2 separate regions of the Homo sapiens genome follow, and region 1 is linked to region 2. Evidence: promoter capture Hi-C in human tissues and cell types (Jung and others, 2019). All regions are on one chromosome and are shown on one strand. Each heading gives the region's core, a stretch centred on a gene start or on the middle of the fragment in contact. The rest is flanking DNA. Distances are from core to core; before and after follow the strand shown.

Region 1 (7,537 bases), core at 2,377-4,876, 610 kb after region 2:
GATATCTGCACTTGCATGTTTGTTGTACACTGTTCATGACAGCCAAAATTTGAAGGCAACCTAAGTGTCCATCAACAGATGAGTAGATAAAGAAAATGTGGTACCTATACACAATGGAGTGGTATTCAGCCATGAAAAAGAATGTGATCCAGTCATTTGCAGCCACCTGGATGGAACTGGAGATCATTATGTTAAGTGAAATAAGCCAGGCTCATAAAGACAAACTTCACATATTCTCACTAATTTGTGGGTTCTAAAAATCAAAACAATTGAACTTATGGAGAAATATGGCTGATAGGGCCAGATGGAAGGGTAGAAGGAGTGTGGGGGGATGGTGGGCATGATTAACGGTTACAAAAAAAATAAAGAATAAAACCTACTATTTGATATCATGACACGGTGACTATAGTCAATAATAACTTATTGTATACTTAAAATAACTAAAAGAGTATAACTGGATTGTTTGTAACACAAAGGATGAATGCTTGAGGGGATGGATACCTCATTTTTTTTTTTTTTTTTTTTTTTTTTTGAGACAGAGTCTCGCTCTGTCGCCCAGGCTGGAGTGCAGTGGCGCAATCTCAGCTCACTGCAAGCTCCACCTCCCGGGTTCACGCCATTCTCCTGCCTCAGCCTCCCGAGTAGCTGGGACTACAGGCGCCCGCCAACACGCCCGGCTAATTTTTTGTATTTTTAGTAGAGACAGGGTTTCACCGTGTTAGCCAGGATGGTCTCGATCTCCTGATCTCGTGATCCGCCCATCTCGGCCTCCCAAAGTGCTGGGATTACAGGCGTGAGCCACCGCGCCCAGCCCTCATTCTTCATGATGTGATTTTTATGCATTACATGCCTGTATCAAAACATTTCATGTACCCCATAAATATATACACCTACTATGTACCCACAAAATTTGTTTTTAAATGTGGAGGATATGCATTCACCATATCCTCCAAATCCCCAATTATTTTTCCATTTTCCTTTCATTCAAAAATCTAGACACAGACTTTGTATCTAGAACCAAGCCAGGAGTTTTGTCCCTAGTAACTCTCCTTGGCCATTAGTGCTCTGTCCATCCCTCATATTTTTATGTAATATGCTAATATTTGAATATTGAAGTCTTACAAAGTAAAGTTTTCTATGAATGACCTATCCACAAGTACATGCTATTTTAGGAATTAATTATGTTCTCCCTGGACCCCATGAATGCCTTATGTCAAGTCCTAAAAAGATAGAAACGATATACAGACAGTCAGTCCCTGACTTAAAATGGTTTGACATATGATTTTTTGGCTTTATGATGGTATAAAAGTGATATGTATTCAGTAGAAACCAAATTTCAAGTAACCCAACCATTCCATTTTGTATTTTTCATACCGTATTCAACACATCACATGAGATATTTAACACTTTATTATTAAATGGTCTTTGTGTTAGATGATTTTTCCACCTGTGGGTAATGTAAGTTTTCTGAGCATGTTCAAGGTAGGCTAGGCTAAGCATAATGTTCAGTAGGTTAGATGTGTTAAATGCATTTTTGGCTTATGATATTTTCAACTTGTGATGGGTTTATCAGGACATAACCCCATCATAAGTCGAGGAGCATCTGTATTTTGAAAAATATTGCTATTTATCTTTTGATATTTTAAAAGTGCATTTCTTTCTCTCGTGAATTCAAATGTACTTTCTGGGCTTAACCTCCATCTCAAGCTATCAAGATTATAAGCATCCGTTTGTTGGATAATTGTTCTTTTTATTATGTTTGACACATTTTTAATTGTTTCTATTGATTTATTCTTCTTAGCAATTGCATGTGATGATCAGAATATTTGCTATATGACCTTCCTGCTTTGTCTTCAAGTGGATGGTGTAAGTCGTGTTTCAAAGTATATTTTCAGAAATCCTTAGAATGTTGTAAAATTTGTATATGAAAAAGGATAAAGTACTTAGCAAATTAGCTCTTGTTCCCACAAAGAAACTTCAAAAATTAAAGTACATAGTGAAATAATCTTTAAAAAAAATTGAGCTAGGGATAGAAAAAATAGCAATTTGATGACCAGCAAGTGTTTATATAATGAGTTCAAAAAAATTTAGGACCAATTTGCTGAATTAACAAAACCTGTAAGGCAAATAAGTGTTTTCCAGATGGACTGTCTCATCCATTACTGCCCACGACATTCTCTTTCTTGGCCTGGAAAGAAACAGTAGTGGAAATTCTACGTAATTCTTAAACATTGTGAAAATTGCCCAGTCAGCTTTTTAAGAAGCTACAGAGCTCTAACCACCAACAAACATTTATAGGACTTAGAATTGGGTTTATCCAAATTTTACATAGTTGCCAACTCTAGCAAAATGAACTGAACAATGATCTATCTTTCAGAACTACGCAATTAAGTTTTTTGTACTAGAAAAATGCATCCTATTCAAGGTTCTTTTCTGGCAAAGAAAAAGTATTCACTCTTCTTTTGCATTTTTCTGAAACCCTATGACATTCTTCCCACTTCCACCATAACACCCAACCCCTGTGCGGTTGAAAGGGCAATCTCCTTTAAACTCCCAGCACAGCCATGCCATCAGGATTTTTCATGGAAGAAGTTCATGGGTTATTCCTGAACAATCAGCTATCTTGCAGACTAACTTCATATTTTGCTCCCAGATGCCCAGAGAATCCTCCTGGGCAGACATATCCTATGTGTTCAGATGAGAGAGATAAATGACCTCCTTAGATGGCAATATAAATTTGAAGATTGAAATTGAGAAGGAAAATCAACCCCTTCAATCTTTCTTACCAGAGACTAGAAAAAAATCGTGTGTGCTTACCTGATAACAGTGAGCAACTCTTGCTATCTGTGCCACCGAATTAATCTTGAAACTGATGTGAAATGTGTCTAACTTCACAACACCAGCTCCTTCTGATACTGTCTGACAGCACCACCCCATCAGAGATTCTTCTAGTTGTGTGCTATGGATATTCGTTTCCTGTAAAGATGGTTGCTTGGATATTTTGATTTTGTGAATGCTGGGTCAACCTAATCATATTTTCCCATATAAATTGCATCCATGTGAAATTAAAATTGAACATAATTAAGAGGAATCCTTTCTGTCTGTATGTCCTATGCATCATTTATCAGGTACAGATATCTCAGGATTAAGGAATCTAAATTTAATTTCATTTTGGATGCCTAAGTAAGTCCTGGGTGAACAAGAAGGCTGGATGAGTCAACAAGAATTGCTGAATTGGCCAGGCTTACTTTGGAGAAAGAAACTTGCATCTGGCAACTGGGCAGTGATTCAGGAGATGGCTGATGCTAAAAGAAAAAATGAAAGTATGAGGCTTACATGCTTATAATCAGCTCCTAACCTCTTTAAAAACACCCTTAATTTCCCTTGTAGTGGTTTCTTTTTCCATTCAAAGGGTTCTGGATCTTAATTTTAATTCAATTTCATCAGGAAACCAATGTAGAAAGAGTAAAAAGAAAGGCAGATGAATAGCAGAAGGAGGTTATCTCAACCTCAATCACTCATGGATGCTTCTAGCTGAAAACACCAGAAAAATCTAAGTGATGTAAACAACTAAGAGCAAATGTAAGAAGAGCTAGAATGCTAAAGTCTAAAGGCAGTTAGTGGGAAGGAGATACTTATAAATTATAAGATAATCTGAGAAGGAAAAGTTGATGGAAGGGGAAAGAGAAGAAAGTGGAGGGGACATGGGGGAAGAGCAAGAAGCGGAGGGAAACAGAAGGTAAAAATGTATGGACTCCATTACCTGATTAGAACTAGGTCCTCAGCTTAAGCTCAGTTACGCTATCAAAGGATGACCTCAACATCTCAGTAGCTTACAAAAACATTGATTTCTCTTTCATGCTACATATATACTCCAGGTCAACTGCCACTCAGCAGTTAATTGTCTACATTCTAGGATCTGGGTTGACTGTCTGAGAGTTCTTAATGAGGTTTTAGAGGAAAAATAGAGCATGAAAGCCACAAGATAGAAGCTCAGAAGGGACACGCTTCATTTCTGCTCACATTTTATTTGTCAAAGCAAGTCACATGGCCAAACCTGATGTTAATGGGGTGGGAATGTATATTTTGAATGATATGTAATTATCCAATAATAATGTAATAATTAAAACATATGTTTTAATCTTCACATCAAGTAAAGATGGCTATGATTTTCCCATGCTTAGGAGTATTGGTTAGAGTGTTTTGCAGAATGTCCTTCAGTTTGTTTTCTTCTGATACTTTTCTCATAAGACTGGGATTATGGGGTTTTTTGGGGAGAAGGGAGAAAAATGCCATTCTCATCACATGATATCAAGAATATATGCTATTAACATGAGCATCATTGTTAATCTTAAACTTGGGGTCAGGCTTGTCAGTTTTCTCCACTGTAGTTACTTGTTTTTCCTTCTTTCTATACTATACTCTTTGGAAGGAAGTCACTATGCACAATTCACACTTCAGAAGTGAGGAGTTATGCTTCACTTCTTTAAAAGTATTTCCCCAATTTTATAGGTGAGGAATTGGAAGTTTAGGGAGCTTAAGCCCAAGACAGCATACTTACTTAGTAGCATCAAGACTGATACCCAAGTCTGTCTGACATATAAAACTATTCTTTCTTCAATATTCCACAAAAAGTACTCCTACTCCTCTAAGAACAGGAAAGTGCTAAGAAAAACAGAAGGATGTATTTATTGGCTGTTTTACTGAAGCATGTTGAGAAACATGCCCTTGATATTTCAGACATTCAGATAATGGTTCCTTAACTTGCTCCTCACTAGCATGGTGACTGGAGAGCTATAAAGCTCCCTCACGTTTGTAACACTATCCAGTCACTGTCCTGACATGGCCTAACTATATACTAGACTGTCTTTCTATAATCATGTCCTGACTCCATTCTAATCAGTAAGCCATCTTTCAAAAGAGAAACTAACTTCTTAGAGCACTGTGAGGGGAGAGCAGAAAATGAAAGTGATATTATCTGCACATCTTGTGGCCAGGAGATAGCTTCTAAGCAGTGTTTTCATGAAGAGAATTATAAATCCAGATATGCCTAATAAAGAAAGACATGTTCTTGACACAGAAAAAGCTCTAGACAAATAGGAGAACTGTCACCAAGACTGAGAAGTACAGCAACAGGATGGTCTATGTCTGTTGGTCGAAAATTCTGAGGGTTTTCCTTCTTGTCAGGGAGATTCAATGTTGACATTTAAAGTATGTGCCAAGTCCTGTGTCCAGTTTTCTTTTGAAGTGTCATTGACAGTGCAGTTCAAAGACAGAAATGAACATCAGATAGCACTGAGTCGTGTTTTCTGAACTAGAATCTAATCTCTCTTCTGAAAAAAAAACTAAGTTATAGAATGTATAAAGATAAAACAGAGTTTATGAATATTCTACATATTTCATATGAAGAAAAGTCTTTTCTCTGTCCATTTTTATACAGAGAATAGAGACTAGTTGGTTTCTAAGTCACATGTACATACTATATATTTAATTGTAATTGTATGATACACAAACATTATTAGTTGAAATATCCTGATGTACAATTATTTTTAAGTAGATTGAGCTCTTGGCTGGCAGTCAGAAAGTTGAATTTTTCACTTCTATTTCTCATAATGTGCAGATATATTTTCAGAAATTTTCTCCAATTGCTGAGATTATCTGGACTATTTGAATTTGCTATTGTAAATCACGTACAAGGATTAAGCTTTTAGGACAAGAACTGTTTTCTTTCCCACTGTGCCTCAACACTTAGTTTATCATAGAATACTATAGATACTTAATAAATGTATGTTAAATAATACATACCAAAACACTGTATACACGCAGTAAATGTTTCTTAAATATCGAATGAATGCTCTCAAGAAAGAAGCATTGAGTGAATTTAAGACAGTCATAAAATGCACAGCTACATCTAAAATAAAAGACCACGTCTAAAGTCAATGCTCATTATTATCCTTCAGTTCAGAATAAAGCTTTTTAAAAAATGAGAACAAGTTTAATAAAGTCTGTATCACATAACATGCGTGATAGCACATTTCTTCCAAATATATTGATCGAAGGCAAGATTTCCAATGGTGAATATTGATAATTGACTTCTAGGCTGTCTCTGCAGGGGCTCACAAAACTTGCTGACCAGCAGGCTGCTATTCATATGAACAGAAAGTAATTTTCCTTTTGATAAGTCAAAAAGATTATATGTTCTTTACATTAAATAACAAAATTGATTGAAAATTAATATTTAATGCTGGTGACAGTATGTTGAGAGAGTTACTCTTCTCTAACACTGGTGTAAGACTATTTTGGTACAACTTTTCTGGAAACTAATTTGGGACTATACACAAAGAGGCTCAAAGAATTTATAGCTTTTTACAAAAGAAAACAAAGAATTCTACTTCTAGGTATTCATCTAAAATTAAAATCAGAGATTTTTTTTCAGAGATTACTGGATATAAAGATGTTTGCTATGTGATAATACTTAAACCTTTGAAACAACTTCAGTGGTTATTAGAGGACTGCCTAAGTAAACTAAGAAATATTCACTCAACAAAGTATTATTCATCCCCTTAAAATAAAGCGTCTATAAAGGAAGAGCCTTATCCAATTCTCCTTTGATGGGTACCTAGGTTAATTCCATGTTTTTGCTATTGTGAATAGTGTTGCGATGAACATATGAGTGTTCTTTTGGATGGATACACAGTAACGGGATTTCTAGGTTGAATGGTAGTTCTGTCTTAAGTCCCTTGAGAAATCGCCAAATTGCTTTCCACAGTGGCTGAACTAATTTAAATTCCCACCAACAGTGGATAAGTGTTTCCTTTTATCCATGTCTATTGTTTTTTGATTTTTAATAACAGCCATTCTGACTGGTTGTTAGAATGATTTCTCATTGTGGTTTTGATTTATTACTCTGATGATTAGTGAGGTGGAGCATTTTTTTCATATGTTTTTTGGCCACTTGTATATCTCCTATTGAGAAGTGTCTGTTCATGTCTTGCCTATTTTTAATGGAGTTATTTATTTTTGCTTGTTGAATTCTTTTAGTATAGATTCTGGATATTAGACTTTTGTCAGATGCATAATTTGTGAATATTTTCTCCCATTTTTTAGGCTATTTATTCTGTTGATAGTTTCTTTTGCTGTGCAGAAGTACTTTAGTTTACTTAGGTCTCACTTTTCTGTTTTTGTTTTTGTTGAAAATTGCTTTTGAGAACTAAGTCATAAATTCTTTACCAAGACCAATGTCCAAAATGATGTCTCCTAGATTTTCTTCTAGGATTCTTAGAGTTTGAAGTCTTACATTTACGTCTTTAATTCATTTTGAGTTAATTTTTGTATATGGTGAAAGGTAGGAGTCCAGCTGCATTCTTCTTCATATGGCTAGCTATCCCAGTACTGTTTATTGAACACAAAATCCTTTCCCCATTGTTTATTTTTGTTAGCTTTGTCAAAGATAAGATGGCTGTAGGTGTGGAGCTCTATTTCTGGGTTTATATTCTGTCCCATTGGGTTATGAGTCTGTTTTTGTACTAGTACCATG
Region 2 (6,853 bases), core at 2,913-5,412:
GAAACATTTTGACTCGCATTAATGCTTTACGTCCCCACATTTATATTAAAAATTCACACACAAATGAAAATGGAAAAACTGCCAATACCTGATTTCTGTCCCCTATTTTTCCACTCGCAATCATATATACTTAGTACGTTTTGACCCCATGGGAAAAAAAAAATAGATAACGTTCAGAACTACCAACAACAGGTAAAAGAAATTGTGTGTGTGTGTGTGTGTGTGTGTGTGTGTGTTAGAATGAAGTGTTTCCCATCATAGTGGCTTCTTTTTTTTTTTTTTTTTTTTTCTGAGACAGGGTTTCGCTTTTCTTGCCCCAGGCTAGAGTGCAATGGCGCGATCTCGGCTCACTGCAACCTCTGCCTCCCAGGTTCAAGCGATTCTCCTGCCTCAACCTCCTGAGTAGCTGGGACTACAGGCATGCGCCACCACACCTGGCTGGTTTTGTATTTTTAGTAGAGATGGGGTTTCTCCATATTGGTCAGGCTGGTCTCGAACTCCCGACCTCAGGTGATCCGCCCGCTTCGGCCTCCCAAAGTGCTGGGATTACAGGCGTGAGCCACCGTGCCCAGCATAGTGGATTCTTAAGCACATTCTTCAGGTATGTGGTGTGTTAGCTGGATGTCTTTTGGCATAATTGTTACATGTTCGGCATGGATAGCACACAGGTTGGTGTCTTCAAAAAGACCAACCAGGTAGGCCTCACTTGCCTCCTGCAAAGCACCAACAGCTGCACTCTGGAAGTGCATATCTGTTTTAAAGTCCTGAGCAATTTCTCGCACCAGACACTGGAAGGGAAGTTTGCGAATCAGAAGTTCAGTGGACTTCTGATAACGTCTAATTTCACGAGTGCCACAGTACCAGGTCTGTAATGATGAGGTTTCTTCACCCGTCCAGTAGAGGGCGCACTCTTGCGGCGTTTGTAGCTAGTTGCTTCCTGGAGTTTTTTTTGTTTGTTTTTTTTTGCTTTTTGTTTTTTTTTTTTTTTTGTTTGAGACGGAGTCTCACTCTGTCGCCCAGGCTGGAGTGCAGTGGCGCGATCTTCGCTCACTGCAACCTCCGCCCCCCAGGTTCAAGCGAGTCTCCTGCCTCGGCCTCCCGAGTAGCTGGGACTCCAGGCGCCTGCCACCGCGCTCAGCTATTTTTTTTTTTTTTTTTTTTTTGTATTTTAACTAGGGACAGGGTTTCACCATCTTGGCCAGGCTGGTCTTGAACTCCTGACCTCGTGATCCACCCGCCTCGGCCTCCCAAAGTGCTGGGATTGCTTCCTGGGTTCTTTACCACCAATTGATTTTTGGGCAGTCAGCTTTGTACCAGCCATGGTATAGTGACCTCCTTACTTAGACCCGTTCTTCTGCTGGAGCGTGGCGAGTGACAGGCGGCGCTGGTGTTGGAGAGCGATGGCTGAGTTTTAATTAACTTTTAAAGCAATACTTGAGGCCGGGCGCGGTGGCTCACGCCTGTAATCCCAGCACTTTGGGAGGCCGAGGTGGGAGACCAGACTGGCCAACGTGACGAAACCCCGTCTCTACAAAAAAAAAAAAAAAAAAACAACAAAAAATTAGCCTGGCGTGGTGGCGTGCATCTGTGGTCCCAGCTACTTGGAAGGCTGAGGCGGGAGAATCGCTTCAACCCAGGAGGCGGAGGTTGCAGTGAGCTGAGAGCGCGCCATTGCAGTCCAGCCTGGGCGACAGAGGGAGACTCCATCTCCAAAAAGAAAGGGGGGGAAAAAGCAATACTTGCACATAATACAAATGGAATCATACAGAAAGCTACAAAGTGGTAGTGTAGTAATCTGTTTTCACGCTGCTGACAAAGACATACCTGAGACCGGGCAATTTACAAAAGAAAGTTTTATTGGACTTACAGTTCCATGTGGCTGGGGAGGCTTCACAATCATGGTGGAAGGTGAAAGGCACGTCTCAGATGGAGGCAGACAACTGGAGAGAGCTTGTGCAGGGAGACTCACGTTTGTAAAACCATCAGCTCTTGTGAGACTTATTCACTATCACAAGAACAGCACGAGAAAGACCTGCCCCCATGATTCAATTACCACCTACTGGGTCTCTCCCACAACACGTGGGAATTCAAGATGAGATTTGGGTGGGGACACAGCCCTACCATACCAGGTAGTAAGTTCTCCCTTAACCTCAGGCTTTCAGTTCTTCTCCACAGAGCCTGACTAGTTTCTTGTGTATTGCTCTAGAGACATCCTAAAGCCAAACAAGTGGGCATGCATACACATATGTATATTTTAAGGGGCTACATTAAAAATATTTACTACAAGTACAACCAACTGGAATGAAGGCCCATGGTATATAGGATGTGCCAAAATGCCTACTGCATATTATCAGCCTTGCATGTATTCCTTGCTTTTATACACTAGTTTGCTTAAATTGCTTTTATCATCTAGTAATAATTTGGAGATTGTTCCACATCAGCACACGTAGAGCAACTTCATTCTTTTCAATGGTACTGTATTTTAACCACTTTCTACAGAAGGATCTTTAGGTTTTCCCCAGACGTTTGTTACTCGAAACAGTGCTCTAACAAATATCTTTACACAGCCTTAATTTATCTGTTGCATAAATGTCTAGACAAGGAAATGCTGGGGAAAACAGTATGCACATATAAAGTTATGACTGGTATTATTACATTTCCTTCCAAAGAGGTTTATCGTTTTTATCCCCACCAACAATGTAATGAGGGTCTACTTCCCAAACCCATGCTAACTCAATATATCTTTACCAGCCCAAAGGATGAAAAACAGTGTCTCACTGATTTAATTTGTATTTAATCTAAGATTAAATTTTAAGTTTTGTAAAACCAAGTTTATCTCTGTAATTGGAGAAAACATCATCCATTAACGTGAAAGGTAATAAGCTGATGAGACTAAATTCAAAGCAAAAGCTCGCTGAGAGGATCTGCCCAATGAGGAAGATGACAGTAGTGTCTGATTTTTTGCTCAGTGCCACCTCCTCCTTTTCCAACAGATAGCATTTGGGAGTGCTGAGTTATAAGAAAGTGTGGTGCGCTCGAGGCTTGCTTGAGGGTATGGAAATCTTGAGATAGGTCTGGAGAACCAGGGAGAGTTAAAAGAGAAAAAAAGTAAGAAAAAAAAAAGAACTTAAGGACTATCTGATCTGAGAGAGGCTTACAAAAATTAGCGTTTTGGTTCACTATTTCTCGCTATTTCTGCATTTCATTAACTGGCAGGGATCACTGGATACTCTGTCATGAATACATATGTTGGGTGTAGTTAGAGAACCTCAATGTCATTGAACCCGTCTTGTGGGTTTTTTGGAGAGAATGAGAGTATGCTGGGAGACATGCTCTGCTTGCAAATGATCAACCCCCGAGGCCAACCCCATTCATCATTTATTTTGAGGAACTGATGATCAAGACAGGAATATGTATGCCTGCCTACAAAATCCTCAAATCAGGCCACTGAATGTTCGACATGAGAACTTTGAATCACATAGAAGATACTCCAAAGGCAGAGAAAAATAGAAAGCCTTCCGACGCCCTGAAAAAATCTTGACCATCCCTGACTTCCCCCAATATGTAAGAAAACCTGTATTATTATTACACACACACTCCCACACACACCCCGCCCTCCCCCACACACACACCCTCTATCCTCACTCGATCTTATTCTATTCGCTCTATTTTTGAGCCTTGGATGTTAAAGTAAGGAACGAAGCTTAGTGGGGAAGCACTGAAGTGCATGGCGCAAATTTAGATTTAAGCCTCACGTTAGATTTCAGATTTGCACATCGAGTCCCGCCCCTATCCAATCCGGGGACGTCACCGCCCTAGTCTTCGGCTGTTTTAAAAGCAAGCGGTTTTTAAAACCCCCAATCCTGCTCTTTGTGTTGGCCTCCTCGGAGTTGCCCCTCTGCAAGCCAACAATTCGGGATAGAAAACACCTCCGTGGTGTTTTCCCGGGGCCCTCCCGCGCCGCGTTCGGCCGCCAGCCCGCTCGAGCTCCCGCGCCAACGCCTCAGGGGTTCGCCCTCCGCCCCCCGCCGCCGCGCCCGGCCCACGCGCAGGGCCCCTCTCCAGCGCCCCCTCCCCGGCACGCTGCGGCTGGCGCTCCCCAGCCCCGCCTGACGCTGCAGCTGGGCCGGAGACTCGCCATTGGATTAAAAATAGCGTCGCCAGTCCGCCCCAAGCCCGCGGTGCCCGCTCCCGCCCCGCAGCCCGCTCTCCCCGCCCGCCCCGGCTCGGCCGGCTGCCGTTGCCCGCGCAGCCCGCCCGTCAGCCCGCTCGCTGGCGCCGCCGCCGCCGGCAGACCCCGCGCTCCGGCTCCGGCTCGGCTCGCTCGGCTCCGGTGCGCGCCGAGGCCATGCAGCGCCGGGGCGCCCTGTTCGGCATGCCGGGCGGCAGCGGAGGCAGGAAGATGGCTGCAGGAGACATCGGCGAGCTGCTAGTGCCCCACATGCCCACGATCCGCGTGCCCAGGTCCGGCGACAGGGTCTACAAGAACGAGTGCGCCTTCTCCTACGACTCTCCCGTAAGTGAGGCGCCTCGGGGGAGGGTCGCGGGGCCGGCGGCCTGCGGCACGTGAAGCCGGGGGAGAAGATGCGCAGTGGCGGCCGGGACCTCTTCTCTTCCTCCGGGCGGCAGAGTTGGCTCAGGAACACTGCAGTTCGGCAGACACTTAGTGAGCGCCCCAGGGCTGCTGCAGCCGAGGACTGGCTCGTGCTGGTGGTTTTGCTCCGCCAGCCTCCCCAGGCTGGAAGGGCCCGATTCCCAGCAGCTTGCACACAGCCCCGCCGCCGTTTAAAGATAGATGAAATACAAGAGTTCCCTGTTCCGAACTGCACGTTGCAGATCGTTTGCGTCCTCCGCGGGGCAGAGCGCAGGGCGGGTAGGTGGACGGGATGATCCCCCCACACCCCGGGACACACACAGCCCTTCTTTTTCTGGGACCACTTGCTTTGCTCAGGGATCCCCACTTCTGGACAATTCTGATTTGCTCTCTGAGCTTTTCTTCCACCAGTTCCCATTTCACCCCACTCCTTTTCTTGTCTTTAGAATGTCAGGGCCAGGCGCGGTGGCTCACGTCTGAAATCCTAGCACTTTTTAAGAGGCGGAGGCGGGCGGATCGTTTGAGGTCAGGAGTTCGAGACCAGCCTGGCTAATATGGCGAAACCCCATCTCTACTAAAAAAGAACCCCAAAATTAGCCGGGCGCGGTGGCGGGAGCCTGTAGTCCCAGCTACTCGGGAGGCTGAGGCTTGAGAATCGCTTGAACCGGGAAGGAGGAGGCTGTAGTGGGCCGAGATCGCGCCACTGCCCTCCAGCCTGGGCGACAGAGCGAGACTCCGTCTCAAAAAAAAAAAAAAAAAAATGTCAGACGAAACCTTCCGGTGCCTCCACTCGGGCAGCAGAAATAGGGGATCTACTGGATTGCGATGGTTTTCTTAAGCCTTCCCCACCTTGCCCTTCTAAATGAGTCACTTGGACTGACATGCGCAAGTATAAATTATTAAAAGTTCAATCCCGAGTCGTGACCTCGGAGAATGAGGAGGAAGCTGAGAGGGATCGCCGCCTTCCACCCGGGGCGGTTGGTGGTGGTTTTCACCTGGTTCTATGTGAATGTGTGAGAAGCAGCAGGAGGGTGAATGTCCCTTTCAAAAGTCAAAATGGGCTTCAAAGTGACTCAGCTGTCTGGCGTTTATCATGTCTTTTTGAGGACCAGGTTATTTTTATCCACCCACTTTAGATCTCATATGTCACCCGGCAGATCTCAATGCATTGGGAGGCGCATGGATTGGATGGACCGAGGCAGGTCTCGCAATGGTCTAATGTATTTTATTCATAGCATGTGGACTATTGTCAGAGGGGAAAAGAAAAGTCCAAATGAGCGGCAACATTTCCAAAGTTTCCTTTATTATCTGTGGGTTGATTTTGGCTGGCTTCAAAGCACTTTTGCTCGACACACACTGGAGTATCAGAGTTAGTATCCTCTCTGTGACATTTAGTTTTTTTATTTATGGTAACTCCATATCATTTGAGGGATGAAACCTAACTTAATTTTTGATTGTTTACTTTTTTTTTCTTTCGAAAAGATCCACAGAGTGGAGTGTGACAATCGGCAGTCCTTTTTTAGGATGTTATCCATAAATTATTTGAAAATGCCATTTTCAGATTGTATGGCCAGTGTTGGGCAGTTCCCACTAATAGCTTCTAAAGGTGGAGAGGGATGATGGTCCTAACTTAAGCAATTGACAGATTGTTACCTCCAGGAAGAAGAAAGTGGCCTAAGTTTTTTAGGATAGCACAACATGGAAAGTGGGTCAAATGACTTTCCCCATGTTTTGATTTGGGCTCTTCTTCAAGTTCTGCTTACAAACTTTGCTCTTGGAAGTTTTTGCTGCATAATGCAGTGGATAACAGGTGTGGGAAAAAAGGCTGATTGTTTTAATTCATTTCCACAAATAGTTATTGGGAGCTTACTGTGTGTGTTTCTAGAATGTTACTATTCTAGAAACATCTCGTCCAGTGTAGACTGATGATTGCAATCATATCACAGCAGTTCCTTAGGGGAGACTGGGATTATTTACAAGGCTGATGAATCAGTATATTTCATTATCTATGTTTCAGGGGAGGAAGGGAAGGTTTGATAATATTTATCTTAAAGCACAGTGCGTGATAATGGGAAGGTTTTTTTTGTTTTGTTTTGTTTTTTTTTTGAGTTTTGCTCTTGTTGCCCAGGCTGGAGTGCAATGGCACAATCTCAGCTCACTGCAACCTCTGCCTCCTGGATTCAAGTGATTCTCCTGCCTCAGCCTGCCAAGTAGCTGGGATTACAGGCGTGTGCCACCACACCTGGCTAGTTTTGTATT

Evidence for each region. The method cuts DNA at HindIII sites, captures the fragments that hold promoters and counts their contacts. A contact is called where the count stands out against the background at its distance.
Region 1: a contact is called between a fragment that was not itself captured here and the fragment with the promoter of USP13 in region 2, in 1 of the 25 tissues and cell types used here (lymphoblastoid cells).

Annotation. Positions count from the first base shown.
Region 1 is chr3:180,262,456-180,269,992 of GRCh38, forward strand. No RefSeq gene overlaps it. Among named protein-coding and RNA genes, the nearest start is that of LINC02053, 150 kb to the right of the region's middle. The HindIII fragment of the contact is 4,424 bases long and covers 1,415-5,838 here.
Region 2 is chr3:179,648,878-179,655,730 of GRCh38, forward strand. USP13 (ubiquitin specific peptidase 13) reads left to right here and starts at 4,163. Exons shown (of 21, transcript NM_003940.3): 1 at 4,163-4,516. The coding sequence starts at 4,349. It also overlaps the pseudogene H3P13. RefSeq lists silencers at 3,895-3,974, 3,985-4,324 and an enhancer at 3,993-4,636. The HindIII fragment of the contact is 11,294 bases long and covers 1,078-6,853 here.